Regions from separate parts of the Homo sapiens genome. Here region 1 is linked to region 2. The links are contacts of gene promoters, found by promoter capture Hi-C in blood cells and fetal thymus (Javierre and others, 2016). All regions are on one chromosome and are shown on one strand. Each heading gives the region's core, a stretch centred on a gene start or on the middle of the fragment in contact. The rest is flanking DNA. Distances are from core to core; before and after follow the strand shown. Region 1 overlaps FAM111B (FAM111 trypsin like peptidase B). Region 2 holds the start of PATL1 (PAT1 homolog 1, processing body mRNA decay factor).

Region 1 (6,962 bases), core at 1-2,500, 560 kb before region 2:
CTGACGGGCACTTGCACCGTGTGGACAGACTCTCCGGTTCTGTGAGTGGTTTTTCTTTTCCCGGGTCGGACCTGGAGTTCTTAGGGGGATGGCTGACAAGGGCAGTAGGCAGAAGGACCTCAGCCCAAAGTCAAGGGGGTTTTGGATGGGGAGCTGGGCAGCCGCCCGTTGTAATTCCCTTCCCCCTGTCTCAGCTTCAAAGGCCAAGAGTTGTACTCCTGAAGAGATACTTAGAGATCATCTGGGTGTTCCTGAATCTCGAGAGGGTCGTTTGACCCTGGTGGGTCCTTTCCCTGCCCGGTGCCGTTCGCGCCCATAGAAGGAGACCAGGTTCGGTTAAGCAGAGCAGAAACTATTCACTGATCAAGGAATGGAGTAGGAGAGCTCCTGCTCAAAGTGCCTGGAGTGTAGTGTGAGGGTGCTTCTTAAGGTCTTTTAGGGCAGGTAGTTGGAAAGCAAGGATTTCTGGAAAGAGACGGGGCTTTCCAGAAACAGCTGAGTGTGGCAGTCTCCTATTTTCTGTTGCCACCCAACACTACATGTGCCTAGCAAGCTGCGTTTCTCCCCGAGGCACAGATTGAGGTATGGTAATCAGCAAGGATTCAGGTTAGGGTAGCGCTTCTAAGTTCGTTTCCCATCTTGTAGCACGGTGGTTACTGACATCCAGTCTCTGTTTCTGTAAGCAAGCACAGCTTCAAGCACAGGTTACCTTCATAGGTTCTGGGGCTTTAGGAAAGCATTGAGGTCATCCTGCGGTGACAGAGGCAGCTGTTCAAAGAACTTGGTGCGCCTTTGAGGCGGGGGTTGTGGAGTGAGGCAGGTAAAAATGCAGATTCCATAGCCACACCCCGACATACTGAATCAGAGTCTGTGAGGGTGGGATCTGGAATCCTTTTTAAAAAGCTTAGAGGAACCAATTCACACGAACAATAAAAGTTTCATCTGAGCCAAAGTCCTTAATCTAGAAATGAGGAAATGGGGATCCCTAAAAGGGTTACAGGGAGAGGGTTGGTGGAAAGTTAGACTATGACAGTTTTAGGGTGGTTCTTTCCTGGCCTTGGAAAGTTTTCTCAGCTGCTGCTCTGATCAGTACACAGCTGAATGCTTTAGGGGAACCCTCTTCATATATCCAGAGTTCCCTCTCTGTGCAGGTCTCCCACCATGTCTTTGGCCTGTGACCTCTTGTCACCTTAGTCTCTCAGCTTTGTCTCCTTAAATCTGGAATTCCTACTGGTTTTGTCTTGCTGCCCTTCCTTGCCACACTGGCCTGGAATTCCTCAAGGTAGTCTGCTAAAGTGGATTATAGGATACATTTCAATTGTCACTGTCCTTAATTGCATAATGTCCAGTTCCTTGCAAACCATTGTTTCATATGTTTTGCTCTTTTTTGTTTTGTTTTGTTTTCATACTAGGGGGAAATCCAGTCCCTGTTACTCCATTTTGGCCAGAAATTCAAGGTAATGACTTTTAATGTTTCTGACTGCTAGTTCTATCTTCTCTCTCACTTCTGGACCTGTCTCTATTCACTGATATTTCTAGTCATTATGGGTCATATTTATCCACTTTTTAAGTGCCTGCTGATTTTTTTATTAGATATCAAGCTTTGTTAATTTCACAACTTTGGGTGCCAGAAATTTTTACATTCCTATCAATATTCTTGAGCTTTGTTCTAGTATGTTCATATTTTACATGGAAACCATTTTATACTTTCGAAGCTTGCTTTTATTTATTAGGTGGGAGCAGAACTAGGGCTAATTTTGTCCTACTGCGGAAGAAATACCTTGCAGAGTAGTCTCCCTGATACTTCATGAATTATGAAGTTTTCTAGTCGGATTTTTGGGAATTGAAATTATACACAGTCCTGTATGAGCCTCAGAAATTGTTACATCTGCTTCTTTTGGGTACTTCTTTTCCTGTTCCTTTTCAACAGTTTCGTTCCACTCATGCATTGACCAAGCTGAAATCTCAAGGGATACCCACTGCAGATCTCTCATACTGTGTGCTCCTGTGGCTGTCTTCTCCCTAGTACTCTGTCATACAAGCTCCAGTCATCTTGGCCTCCCAAAACTCCTTGCTTGTCTTCTCAAATCAGGGAAACTACTAGACTCTGCCTGTTTCTCCTTCCTAAGATATGCCTTGGAAACTCCATACAGTAAGCTAAATAGCCATAGGGCTTACCTCATATGATTTTCTTCTCAGATATCAGAGATGAGGTCCCACACCACCTGATCTCCAGTGTTTGAAAGTGGTTATTTCATAGATCTTGTTTTTTTGGTTTTTTTAGACATTTCAGGTGGCAGAATAAATTCAATCCTTGTTTCTCCATCTTATCGAGTAGTAGAAGTTAGTTACATTCTCTTTGAACTCATCATGAATTCCATGAAGACTGAAGAAAACAAGTCATTTAGCGCTATGGAAGATGACCAGAGGACTAGACCTGAAGTTTCAAAGGTATATCTACTTTTTTACAACTCCTCAGAGGAGTGATAGTCTAACTATAGTGCCATATGAGGATCTTGGAGATAAGTTCTTAAACAATGGTCGTTATAAGCCCTTCTCTTAGGTAGTTTAAAATATATTTGGGGAGCTCATACACATAAGTGCTTGTGGAAAGCAAAATGATAGAGTTAACAATGCTAAACGTATGTTAAGACAACAAGATGACTAACAAACAATATAGACACTTAAAGTCTTGGAAAGTGTAGACAGGCAAAAATAATTAGCTAATGTTTTCTGAGGAAACACTGTGTGCCTAGAATTGTGTCCCATCATATGTATTATCTCATTTAACACTTAATAGAACTATGCAGTAGGTATTATTATCATACTTATTTTATAAAAGAAGAAACTGAAGCTCAACTTGCTTATAGTTGCAGAAGTAATGGACTTCAGAGCAAGGATTTAAACCTAGTCCATCAGACTGCAGAGACTGGTTTTTGACCCACACTATTTTGCTCAAAATATGCAAAATGATAATACAAAATTGAGACATAAACAAGTGATTTTAGAGTACAGAGAGAAGAATGCTTAATTCAGACTTAGGAAACTACAGCAGCGTCATATGAGAAATGATTTATTAATGAATAATAAATCTAAAATTGTCAAACTCATAGGTGTCGAAGTGGTTGTTGGGCTGGGAATAGAGAAAAATGGAGGTATTAGTCAAGGGGTACAAAGTTTCCTTATACAAGGTGAATAAGTTCTAGGGATCTGTACAGCATGGGTGCCTATAGTTAATAACACTGTTGTATACTCAAGTTCTTGCTAAAATGATAGATCTTATGTTAAGTGTTCTAATTACAAAAATAATAAGAGGGCAGGAAGAGACTTTGGGAGGTGATAGATAGGTTGATGGCATAGATTGTGGTGATAATGTATCTCCATACTCATCAAGTTGCATACATTAATTATGTACATTAATTATGCATTTTGTATGTCTAAAACTAAGTTATTTTTTAAAAAGAATGAATAACATTTCACTAGTGTATCAAGGATGAAGGAATGGCCTAAGTAAAGTCGTGTACACAGGAAAACATATTTGGGGAACAGGATAGCTGCATTTGATGCTTTATAAGGAGAATTCAAGAATATGGTAGGCAAATACTGTTTTCTATACTGGTAAGGTAGTATGGTGCCAAGATCACAGTAGGCTTTATATCAATAAGAGCTTTCCACATTTCCAGTAAAAATATTTTCTAATTGTGAAACAATAAAATGGATTCGCTGGTTCACATGAGTGGACATTCCAGAATTCAGCTGAGCTCTTAATTCAGTGGTATACAGTTTCTTTAAGGACTTGTTTGTGTGTTCAGTCTCTGTGTTCTGCTTTTCATGTTATCCCCTGGCTGGCTTTCTGCATAGTGACAAATAGAGCTGCAGTAATATCAGATGCTTTACTCTCCCTATAATGAGTCTATCCTGGTTTCCTGAGGAAACTTCTCTTTGCCATCTAATTGTCCCAACTTAAGTAGCTCACCCATTTCAACACAAAACCTTGTGACTGAGAGGGCACATATAGATATTCTTAAGCTGTCATGAATTCATTTCCATACGTGTATGGCTCCTAAAAAGTGGGAGAGAGGTAGAATAGCTTTCTGGAAAATAGCTGCAGTATCTTTTTTTTCTTTGAATTCCATGTGTAGGTTTTTGGATTTCCTTCTGTAAATAAAGGAGATGTGTTTACAGACTTTATCTTTGTATTGCTTAGGAGGAGTTATTCAATTCACTTAAGACTTTGTTAAGTTAAATATTAATGTTAAAATGATTAGGGCTATTTCGTTCAAGACAATTGCCACTAATCACATGTGATTATGTAAATTTAAATTTAAATTCAACTTAACTAAAATCAAATAATGAAAAAGGTCAATAGTACAAATTCTCAGTTATATCACGTGTCAAGTACTTAAGAACCACATGTGGCTGTGGAATTAGACAGTGCAGATGTAGAACATTTCCGTCACTGCAGACATTCTATTGGGCAGTACTAGTCTAGGGCATCCAATTATAGAACAGAACTAGAGTATAAAACTGCCAAACTGTTCGTCTAGAAAATAGAATGAGAGGGAAAAATCAAAGTAAAGGAGGCAACAAAGCAAGGGAATATAAATTCAGAAAAAGTGGCAAAAGTAGAAGATACAAAAAAAGATGATAGAAATGAACACAAAAACCCCCACACCCAATTAATTGTCTTACAGATTATTTGAAAGGCTTTAACTTTTATTGTTTCCTTTAAATTTATGTATTTCATATACAGTAAAATTCAGTCTTTTTGGTATACAGTTGAATGGCTTATAACAAATGCCTGCAGTAATGTAACCATGACCAAAATCCAGAAGCAAAGCAGTTCCATCACCCTAAATAATTTCTTGTGTGGTTCCATCACTCTATATAATTTCCTGTTCTCCCCACTTGTGCCCTATTCATCCCAGTCCCTGGCAACCACTAATCTGTTCATTACTCTAGTGTTAACTTTTCCAGAACATCATATAAATGGAACATACACTGAATCATACCCTTTGAGTCTGGCTTCTTTCACTTAGAACATTCCATTTAAGATTCATGAGTGTTGCATGCACTGATAGGTTTTTTCTTTTTATTGATGAGTAGCATTCCACTGTGTGAATGTATCAAAATCTGTTTATCCATTCACTCCCTTAAGAACATTTGAATTGTTTCCAGTTTGGGGACTTTGTATATAAAGCTGTTGTGAACATTTGCCTGCAGGTTTTTGTATGAAGATTAGTTTTCATTTCTCTTGGGTTCACCTAGCAGTGGAATTGCTGTCATGGAAAGTGTATGACATAACTTTAATTTTATAAGAAATTATCAAAATGTTTACAAAATGGCTGTATGATTTCTCATCCTCGTTACCAATGTGTGAGAGTTCCAGTTGTTTCATATTCTTGTCAACACAAAGTTTTTCTGATTTATTCATTCTCATAGGTATGTAATGGCATCGTTTTGTGGTATTAATTTGTATTTCACTATGACTCATGATTTGAGCATCTTTTCATGTGTTTATATCATCCACATATCTTTGGTGAAGTGTCTATTAAAATATTTTTCCCATTTTATACTTGTTAGTTATTGCTGAGTTTTGAGAGGGCTTTACATATTTTGGAAACAAGTCCTTTGTCATATTGCTTTTCTCATAATATTTGTGATAATTCCTGATATTTTATCTCTGTGTGGCTTGTCTTTTCATCCTTTTATTCCTGTTTCGGGAGGGAAAAGTTTTCAACTTTGATGAAGTCCACTTTCTCTATATTTCTCTTTGTGGATCATGCTTTTGCTTTTACATCAGAGAACTGTCCTAAATCTAAGATCACAAAACATTTCTAGTTTTCTTCCAGAGTTGTAGTTTTAGGTTTAGTCTGCAATTGATTTTAAGTTTTATTTATTTTTTGTATGGTGCAATATCTGGATCAAAGTTTGTGTGTTTGTGTAAATTGTGTGTTGTGTAAAAAAATTAACACAATTGTGGATGATTAGCATCTTAACCATGTTGAGTCTTCCAATCTTGAACAAGATATATTCTCCATTTATTTTGGTCTTGTTTAATTTCTTTTGCTGTGGGGTACCTGGGAGAATAGGCAAACCTGGTGGATGAAGGCAGAGCAGGGAGTGGGTGATTGAAGGGGCAATGTGACTGGTGCATTATTCTCTCCAAGGCCACCAGACAAGGTGAGAACTAGAAAGATCAGAAGTACAAGGCACAAGTGACAGAGGTTAGTCATCCTGACATCATGCAGCTTTAAGATTGTCCAGAGAACTGTGAGTGGCTGCTATTACCTCTGGGTCTCTGGAGTATGTCTTGCCCCTTTGACGAGAAACCCTTGCTTCCTCCACCCTACATAAACTCCTCAAAAGAGAAACCTCTAGCACTGGAATCTCCCTCCCCAGACAAAAGCTCTGCACAGATGGAGTCACGTCTCTATCAGCGTCCCCCAGACTTAGAGTCCCCTGGAAACTGGATGGTCAAGATCATAAGTTATTGGGACTTATGTATGCCAGATGCAACAGTCTGCCCGGCACATTAGACACATCTTATGGGAGTCTCACCACACCTAGAGGGAAGTGTTTTCCAATTTGACAGAAAACAGAGGGGAGGCATTTGTTCAGAATGCATTTGAAACCTGGCCCCTCGGCAAACTTTACTGACCAGCTTCTACTTTAGGGACTAGGCATGTGAAAGAAGGACAGAGTCCCAGCTCTTGTGAACCTTACATTTTAAAGAGTGAAAGAGATTATCCAGGAAACAGACAAATAGAAAGTTTTCGCTAGTGGATCAAGAACATACAAAGGTAACAGAAAGTGGCAAGTGTGTGCCTTGGAGTGCTGCTCCGGCTAGGGAAGTCAAGAGGCCTCTGAAGTGGCCCTGAAGACACCCAAGGGAAGGCCAGACAGAATGGTGAATGCACAAGCCCTGAGAATGGCTAAGGCTTCCTGTCCAGGGCCTGAGT
Region 2 (7,048 bases), core at 171-2,670:
CTTTTAAGGACCTATTGCGTCTAAGGTTCTGTGCTAGGCTGTAAGGCTCAATGTCTTACATTGTAATGCAGGGACAATACCAACTATGGCAGAGAGTTGTGATGATCAAAGTGGGCAAAGATTACAGATTATCGAACAAAGGCTAGAGGCCACCACATCCTAGGTGTGTTCTATTTTCCCCCTTTACTTCAATCTTACTCAACTGATTTATTCTCCAAGTTTTCCTTTTGGTTTGGTCTTAGATCATTCCTATCAAGTATACCTGTCCTCAATTTTCAAAAATTCAGAATCAGAATTCCATATTCTATCAGTAGGTACGTTTGTGATACACCTTGCCTGGCTACCTCTTAGCTACCCTGTTTACAATGGAAAGATTAGGTCAAAGGGCGTTCTTCTTACCCCAGAGCCCTTCCAAACTCATGCCAATAGGCATGCCACTGCCTCCTTATCAGAGGCAACTTCCAGCAGTACTCCCTTCCAAATCACAAATATCTACTTTACCAAATCGCTGCTTTTTTAAATTAAAAATTCTTAAGGATCATTTACATCAGTTCTTTCATGCTACAAATTCAGAAAGTTTACGTCCAGAGATTAGGAGTCACTCAAGGTCACACAGTGAGTTGGTGACAGGGTCAGTACTGTCTGCTGCTATTGCTACATTCCCGGCACCTTCTCCAAACCCGCGTCTCCCAGCACTAGCCCAGAAGGAACTTCTGCAGGACACGCCCCCCTCCCAACTCGGAGCCCTCTTTAGTAAACGGGCTGGGGCCCTAATCCAACGGCAAGCCCAGGCCCCCTTCACCTGAAGGTAGCCTGTGTGAATGGGATGTGTGTCAGTGTAATTCGAGTGGAGGTGGGTGGGGGGTGGTTCCGGGTCCAGGGCGGGAAACGCGGCTCTGGGAATTCCCGGGTGACACCTACTTAAGAAAAGCACCCGGGGAGATGCAGTGCTCTACCCTCCGTGGCTCCTCTAGGGGTGGGGGCGGGGGTGTGGTCTGGTTACAGCACTTAACGGGCCCTCCCCACCCCAAAACGGAGGCCAACTTTCCCCAGCGGCAACTAATGGGACTGTCTCGACCCATGAAGCCAGCTCCCAGCCCTAGGATTAGACCCGCGACCCCAGACCAGTCGCGTCCAGCTAAGTCCTGCGACTCCCCCAGCCCGCCCCCTGCCCCGCAGGAACACAGGACCGGCGCGCGGAGAGAGAGTGAGGGAGAGGGGCGCGGGAGGGAGGGAGGGGTCACTTCCGGTCGCAACAGCTCACCTCGTAGCGGAACATTCTTGGGGAGGGGGGCAGGGAGCGGGGAGGGGAGAGGGGGAGGGAGGGAAGAAGCGCTGACTCCCCGGCTCCTCCGCGCGCGGGTCCTCCACCGGCTCGCGACCCCTGGCCGCCGCCGTACGCCGGAGCGTGCGTGGGGACGTGCGCAGGCGCGCCTCAGGCAGGGCGGCCACCCCGCTCGGCGCCCGGCGGCGGCGGCTGCGCAGGGACAGATTTGGCGTCCCGCTTCCTAGTCTCAGCGGCGGGAAGGAGGTCCCGTGGCGAGAGACTGCGCACGCGCTGCCCGTCTTCGGCTGCCTGGTGATCTGGGCTTGTAGCTCCGCCCCCTCTTTCTCCGCGCCCTCTAGGCGCTCGGCTTGGAGCTCAGGGGCCGGTCACGAGTTCTCCGTCACCCGTGGGGCGGAGAAAACCCTTGTGATTGTCACAGGATATAGCTTTGAAGAATCCTGCGCTTAGCCTGGGCTGGGAAAGATGAGATTCCCGGGCAGTTTTTCCAACGTCCGACTCACTCCTCAGGCTGCTCGGGGGTCTCCCCGTTGCAATCTGCGCCTTGCGCAGGGAAAAAAGAATGGAAAGTTGCTGGTCTTCGAAAGGGGCGGACTTCGTCGCCACTTTCAGCGGCTCGTCGCCTGCTGAATCCACAGCAGGTCAGGGCTGTGATTTATGTGGCTCAAAGTGATGACGGCGCCCGTTTTTTTTTTTTTTTTTTTTGAAATGCTGAAGACAGGTTCCGGGAGGTTTAACTAGGGTGGTATTTTTAAGCGCCAGGCTCATTAGGCGCGAGGAGCTGCAGAGCCTCGAAGGGCCGCACGGCCGTGGGCCGCTGGCCACGCAGCAGCAGGGTCTTCGGGCCGTGGTGCGCCGCTGGGTGACTCCACTTCCTTAGAGGATCGAACCCACAGAGGAATGTGTCCAGCTTAGAAGCTTCGGCCCCCTGGTTCCAGAATTCTGTTGGGTGGTTTGTTACCTCTAGCACGCTCCATGCCCTTCTTGCCCCTTTCCTTTCAGACAAAACTTGCAGCACAAAGAATGAATTCTTTTGGGTTTCGCAATCCGTTTCTTCCCTGGGCGTCTTAAAATGCAGCCTCGTCTCGGAATGGCATACAGTAAATCCCCTAAATGTTAGTGTGTCTGGATCAGTTTGAGTATCGGAAACGCTGAATTTGTGAAGAAAAGTTCTGGGTGGGAGCTTGTGCTTTGCCACTGGCTAGGAAACTTTGGGCAACTTACCTAAACCTCTCTGAGCCTTAGTTTCTTGTAAAATGGGTATAATTACACCTGCCTCATGATGGTAACACTACTAACGATTGAAGGCTGCCTGGGACTCTGCTAGGCGCTTTATAAAATGGATTATCTCATTGAATCCTTCCTTATGTGCCCCCCATGAGGTAGGTACTGTTATTTTCTCAGTTTACAGTTGAGGAACCTGAGGATTAGCGACATTGTTTGCCTCCAACCACCCAATGGCAAGTGGTAAAGCTAGCAGCTGAGATTTGTCTGATTATTAAAAACCGAGTGTCTTAATCACTGTGCCAGAATAACAAAAGCAAATGTTGACATGGGCCAGGCCTGAACTTTAAAGAAGTGGAGCGTCGGGACAAGATGATTTATTGGTTTTCAAGCATGCATGGAACATTATAAAACATCAAATACTAAGTAACAGGCCAGGCGCGGTGGCTCACGCCTGTAATCCCAGCACTTTGGGAGGCCGAGGTGGGCGGATCACAAGGTCAAGGAGATCTAGACCATCCTGGCTAACAGAGTGACACCCCGTCTCTACTAAAAATACAAAAAATTAGCCGGGCGTGGTGGCGGGCGCCTGTAGTCCCAGCTACTCGAGGGGCTGAGGCAGGAGAATTGCGTGAACCCGGGAGGCGGAGCTTGCAGTGAGCCGAGATCGCACCACTGCACTCTAGCCTGGGTGACAGAGCAAAGACTACGTCTCACAAAAAACAAACAAACAAACAAAAAAAACTAAGTAGCAGTACATCTTAATAATTACCAAAGAATTGGTGCCATGTAGATCAAGGGTTAGCAGACTATGGCCCACAGTCCAATCTGGCCAGCCACCCGTTTTTGTAAAGCAAGCTTTATTGGAATACAGCCAACCTTATTTATTTACATATTGTCTTTGATTGCTTTAATGTTATAAAGTCAGAGTTGAGTGGTTACAATGGATACAGTGTGGCCTGTAAAGTGTAACATATTTACTATTTGGCGCTTTACAGAGTTTGCTGATCCCTGATCTTGCAGATCATGTTTTCTGATCATTATGTAAGATATCAATAGTAAAAACAGATTAGGAAAAAAGTCTTAAGTTTTCAGAAATTAAAAAAGAAAAAAAAAAGTCCTGGCGCGGTGCCTCACGCCTGTAATCCCAGCACTTTGGGAGCCCGAGGCGGGCAGATCACGAGGTCAGGAGATGGAGACCATCCTGGCTAACATGGCGAAACCCTGTCTCTACTAAAAATACTAAAAATACAAAAAAATTAGCCGGGCGTGGTGGCGGGCGCCTGTAGTCCCAGCTACTCGGGAGGCTGAGGCAGGAGAATGGGGTGAACCCAGGAGGCAGAGCTTGAGGTGAGCCGAGTTCGCGCCACTGCACTCTAGCCTGGGTGACAGAGCGAGACTCTGTCTCAAAAAACAACAACAACAACAACAACAACAACAACAAAAACCAAAAAACCCCTCCAATTCAATGACTAAATAATGGAAAGCAGAAAATAGTTACAACTGATGTGGTGGGTGGATTGCATGAGCTCAGGAGTTGGAGACCAGCCTACGCAACATGGCGAAACCGCGACTCTACAAAAAGCACAAAAATTAGCTGGGTTAGTTGTTTTATTAGCTGCTCTGCATTATTTCTGGTCGTGGTGGTGTGCACCTGTGCCTGTAGTCCCAGCAGCTACTCGGGAGACTGAGGACGAAAATAGGGAAGCCTGAATATAAATTAGCTATAAAATAAACCCAAAGAAAGTACAAGGAAAGAAATGCTGTAGAGCAGGAATTAAAGGAGCAGAAAACAAAGTGTCATAGACAGGATCAACAAAATTTCCCATTTCCTCTTATACAACACCTGTCTGTGAGGGAGATTGAAAGTCCCTTTAAAAGAATAATGTATTTTTAGGCGGGTGCTGGTGGTTCACGCCTGTAATCCTAGCACTTTGGGAGGCCGAGGCGGGCGGATCACGAGGTCAGGAGATCGAGACCATCCTGGTTAACACGGTGGAACCCCGTCTCTACTAAAAGTACAAAAATTAGCCAGGCATGGTGGCACCCACCTGTAGTCCCAGCTACTCGGGAGGCTGAGGCAGGAGAATTGCTTGAACCTGGGAGGTGGAGGTTGTGGTGAGCTGAGATCACACCACTGCACTCCAGCCTGGGCAACAGAGGGAGACTCCATCTCAAAAAAAACTATATATATATATATATATATATATATATATATATATATATATATGGTTTTTTTTGTATATATATATATATATATATATATATATATAGTTTTTTTTGAGCTGCTAATAGGCCCATTATTAAGATGGAAAAGGTACAAGTTCTTTTCACAAGTGATTCTTTAGACATAAAGTATGATGTTTCTGGGAACTGTCCCTTGAGTGGGTGGGAGAAGGGAGGTGTCTCCTGCATGCCAAGTACATGGGAAAGGTTATTGACAGCTGAGGAAGGCCATCAATTAGAGAAAGCCACCACACCAGCTTTCTTTGGCATTATCTATGCTTTCTGGAGGCTCTGTAAGCCATTATAGTATTTACAGAGTATACATGTTTCTTTTTTACTTTTTTTTTTTTTTTTTTTTAAACCTGACAAGTTACTTGGGCTAGAGTGCGGTTGCATGATCACAGCTCACTGAGCTTCGACCTCCTGGTCTCATGCGATCCTCTTGTCTCAGCCTCCCAAAGTGCTGGGCTTACAGGCGTGAGCCACCACACCTGGCCTGTTTCTTTTCTAAATGTAAAAAAACATGACGTACAATTTACTTTCTTGTGAGACTGGTTTCAGATATTTTCATCAAGTAACTTACATCTCTAAAACACTGATTCCAAACTTTAACATGCATTTAGAATTGCCAAGATGGCTTGTTGAAACATAGACTACTGGGCCCCATCCCCAGAGTTTCACATTCAGTAGGAGGGAAGTCAGGCCTGAGAATTTGCATTTGTAACAAGTTGCCAGATTATTCCGACGCTACTAGTTCTGTGACTACACTTTGAAACCCCACATTGTCCATTAGTACTTGCAGGGTTATAGAGGGAGAAAAGAGTAGGGTGCTGCACCCAGGGTCATTTCTCATGTAGTGAAAAAAGTTATGACAAACCTCCCAGAAAGTAATGGGACCCCTTAGTGCAACAAATCTTAGGGGAAAAGAATTACCCATATAATAAAAATAACTGTTACAAGGCAAAATTTGTGATGGACTAAACATGGCCACAAATTCTTTGACAGTTCTCCCATTTAATAATTAACTGATTAGTTTTTATTATTTACTTTTCAGAGATGGGGTCTCACTCTGTTGCCCAGGCTGTAGTGCAATGGTGTGATTATAGTTCACAGCAGCCTCAAACCCCTGGGTTCGAGTGATTTTCCTGCCTCATCCTTCTGAATAGCTGGGGCTACAGGCACACACCACTATACCCAGCTTATTTATTTTTTATTTTTATAAAGACAGGGTCTCACTATGTTGCCCAGGCTGGTCTCAAACTCCTGGCCTCAGCCTCCTGCATAGCTGGGATTACAGGCGCAAACCAGCACACCCTGCTACTTCTCCCATTAGGAGGTAAGATCTATGTTCCCTTTTCCTTGAATCTGGACTGAGCTATGACTGCTTTGACTAATGGAATATGGAAGTGGAGATGCTCTGCCAGTTCTGGGTCACCTTTAAGAAGATTGGCAGTGTAAGTCCATGTAAAATACCCGGCTGCTTTGCTGAAGAGATCACATGGAAGGACCCTGAAATTACATAAAGAGGAAGGTGGGTCCAGCTCTATTTAGCTTATTAACCATCCCAGTCAAGACACCAGGTATGTGAATGAAGCTGTCTTGGACTCTTCACACCTGTTCAGCTACCAGCCAAACACTGTGACTCCATTCCATGCCATAAAGAGCGGAAGAATCACTCAGCAAAGCTGCTCCAAAATTCCTGGCCCATAGAAGTATTTTATATATATATATAAAATATAAAATACTTTATTATATATATTATATATATATATATAAAATAAAATGGTTGTAGTTTTAAGCCACAAATTGTATTGTTTGTTTTGTTTGTTTGTTGTTTTTTGAGAGGGCTGCAGTGCAATGGTGCAATCATAGCCCACTGCTACCTCAAACTCCTGGGCTTAAACCATTCCCCCACCTCAGCCTCCCCAGTAGCCAAGCCTTCAGGCACGTGCCACCACATGTGGCTATATATATATATGTACATTTCAACCACAAAGTTTTAGAGTAGTTTATTGCTCACTAATAGATAGTGGGAATGTGTCCGTTTAGAAAAATTATACAAAACTTGGAAATAAGGAAAAAGGATTGTTGTGTGCCTTGCAATGTTGTAATAAGAACATTATCTAACAAGCCTGCCTAAAGGTCATTTAAAGTTCTACAGAGAGGTAACCTTGTTTGACTTAGTGTTTATTATTAATTAATGAGATCCCAGACTCAGTAAAGTTAGATATTAGTTTATAGAAGATTAACAAGTTGCAAATTATTTTTGTCCAGTGGAGATAATTTCATTTTGGTGGGAAAGATCATCTCAAA

The links. Contacts are between HindIII fragments. The CHiCAGO score rates a contact against its expected background, and 5 or more counts as called.
Region 1: a fragment that was not itself captured here is called in contact with the fragment with the promoter of PATL1 in region 2 in 1 of 17 cell types (fetal thymus); the score reaches 6.1 in fetal thymus.

Annotation. Positions count from the first base shown.
Region 1 is chr11:59,107,256-59,114,217 of GRCh38, forward strand. FAM111B (FAM111 trypsin like peptidase B) reads left to right here. Exons shown (of 4, transcript NM_198947.4): 1 at 1-41; 2 at 1,413-1,457; 3 at 2,285-2,451. The coding sequence starts at 2,371. Among named protein-coding and RNA genes, the nearest start is that of FAM111B, 3.5 kb to the left of the region's middle. RefSeq lists an enhancer at 1,101-1,150. The HindIII fragment of the contact is 698 bases long and covers 902-1,599 here.
Region 2 is chr11:59,667,617-59,674,664 of GRCh38, forward strand. It overlaps PATL1 (PAT1 homolog 1, processing body mRNA decay factor), which reads right to left and starts at 1,421. Exons shown (of 19, transcript NM_152716.3): 1 at 1,265-1,421. The coding sequence starts at 1,279. PATL1-DT (PATL1 divergent transcript) reads left to right here and starts at 1,694. Exons shown (of 4, transcript NR_187296.1): 1 at 1,694-1,926; 2 at 5,960-6,071. RefSeq lists a silencer at 1,151-1,500 and enhancers at 1,460-1,754, 1,681-1,970. The HindIII fragment of the contact is 2,400 bases long and covers 1-2,201 here.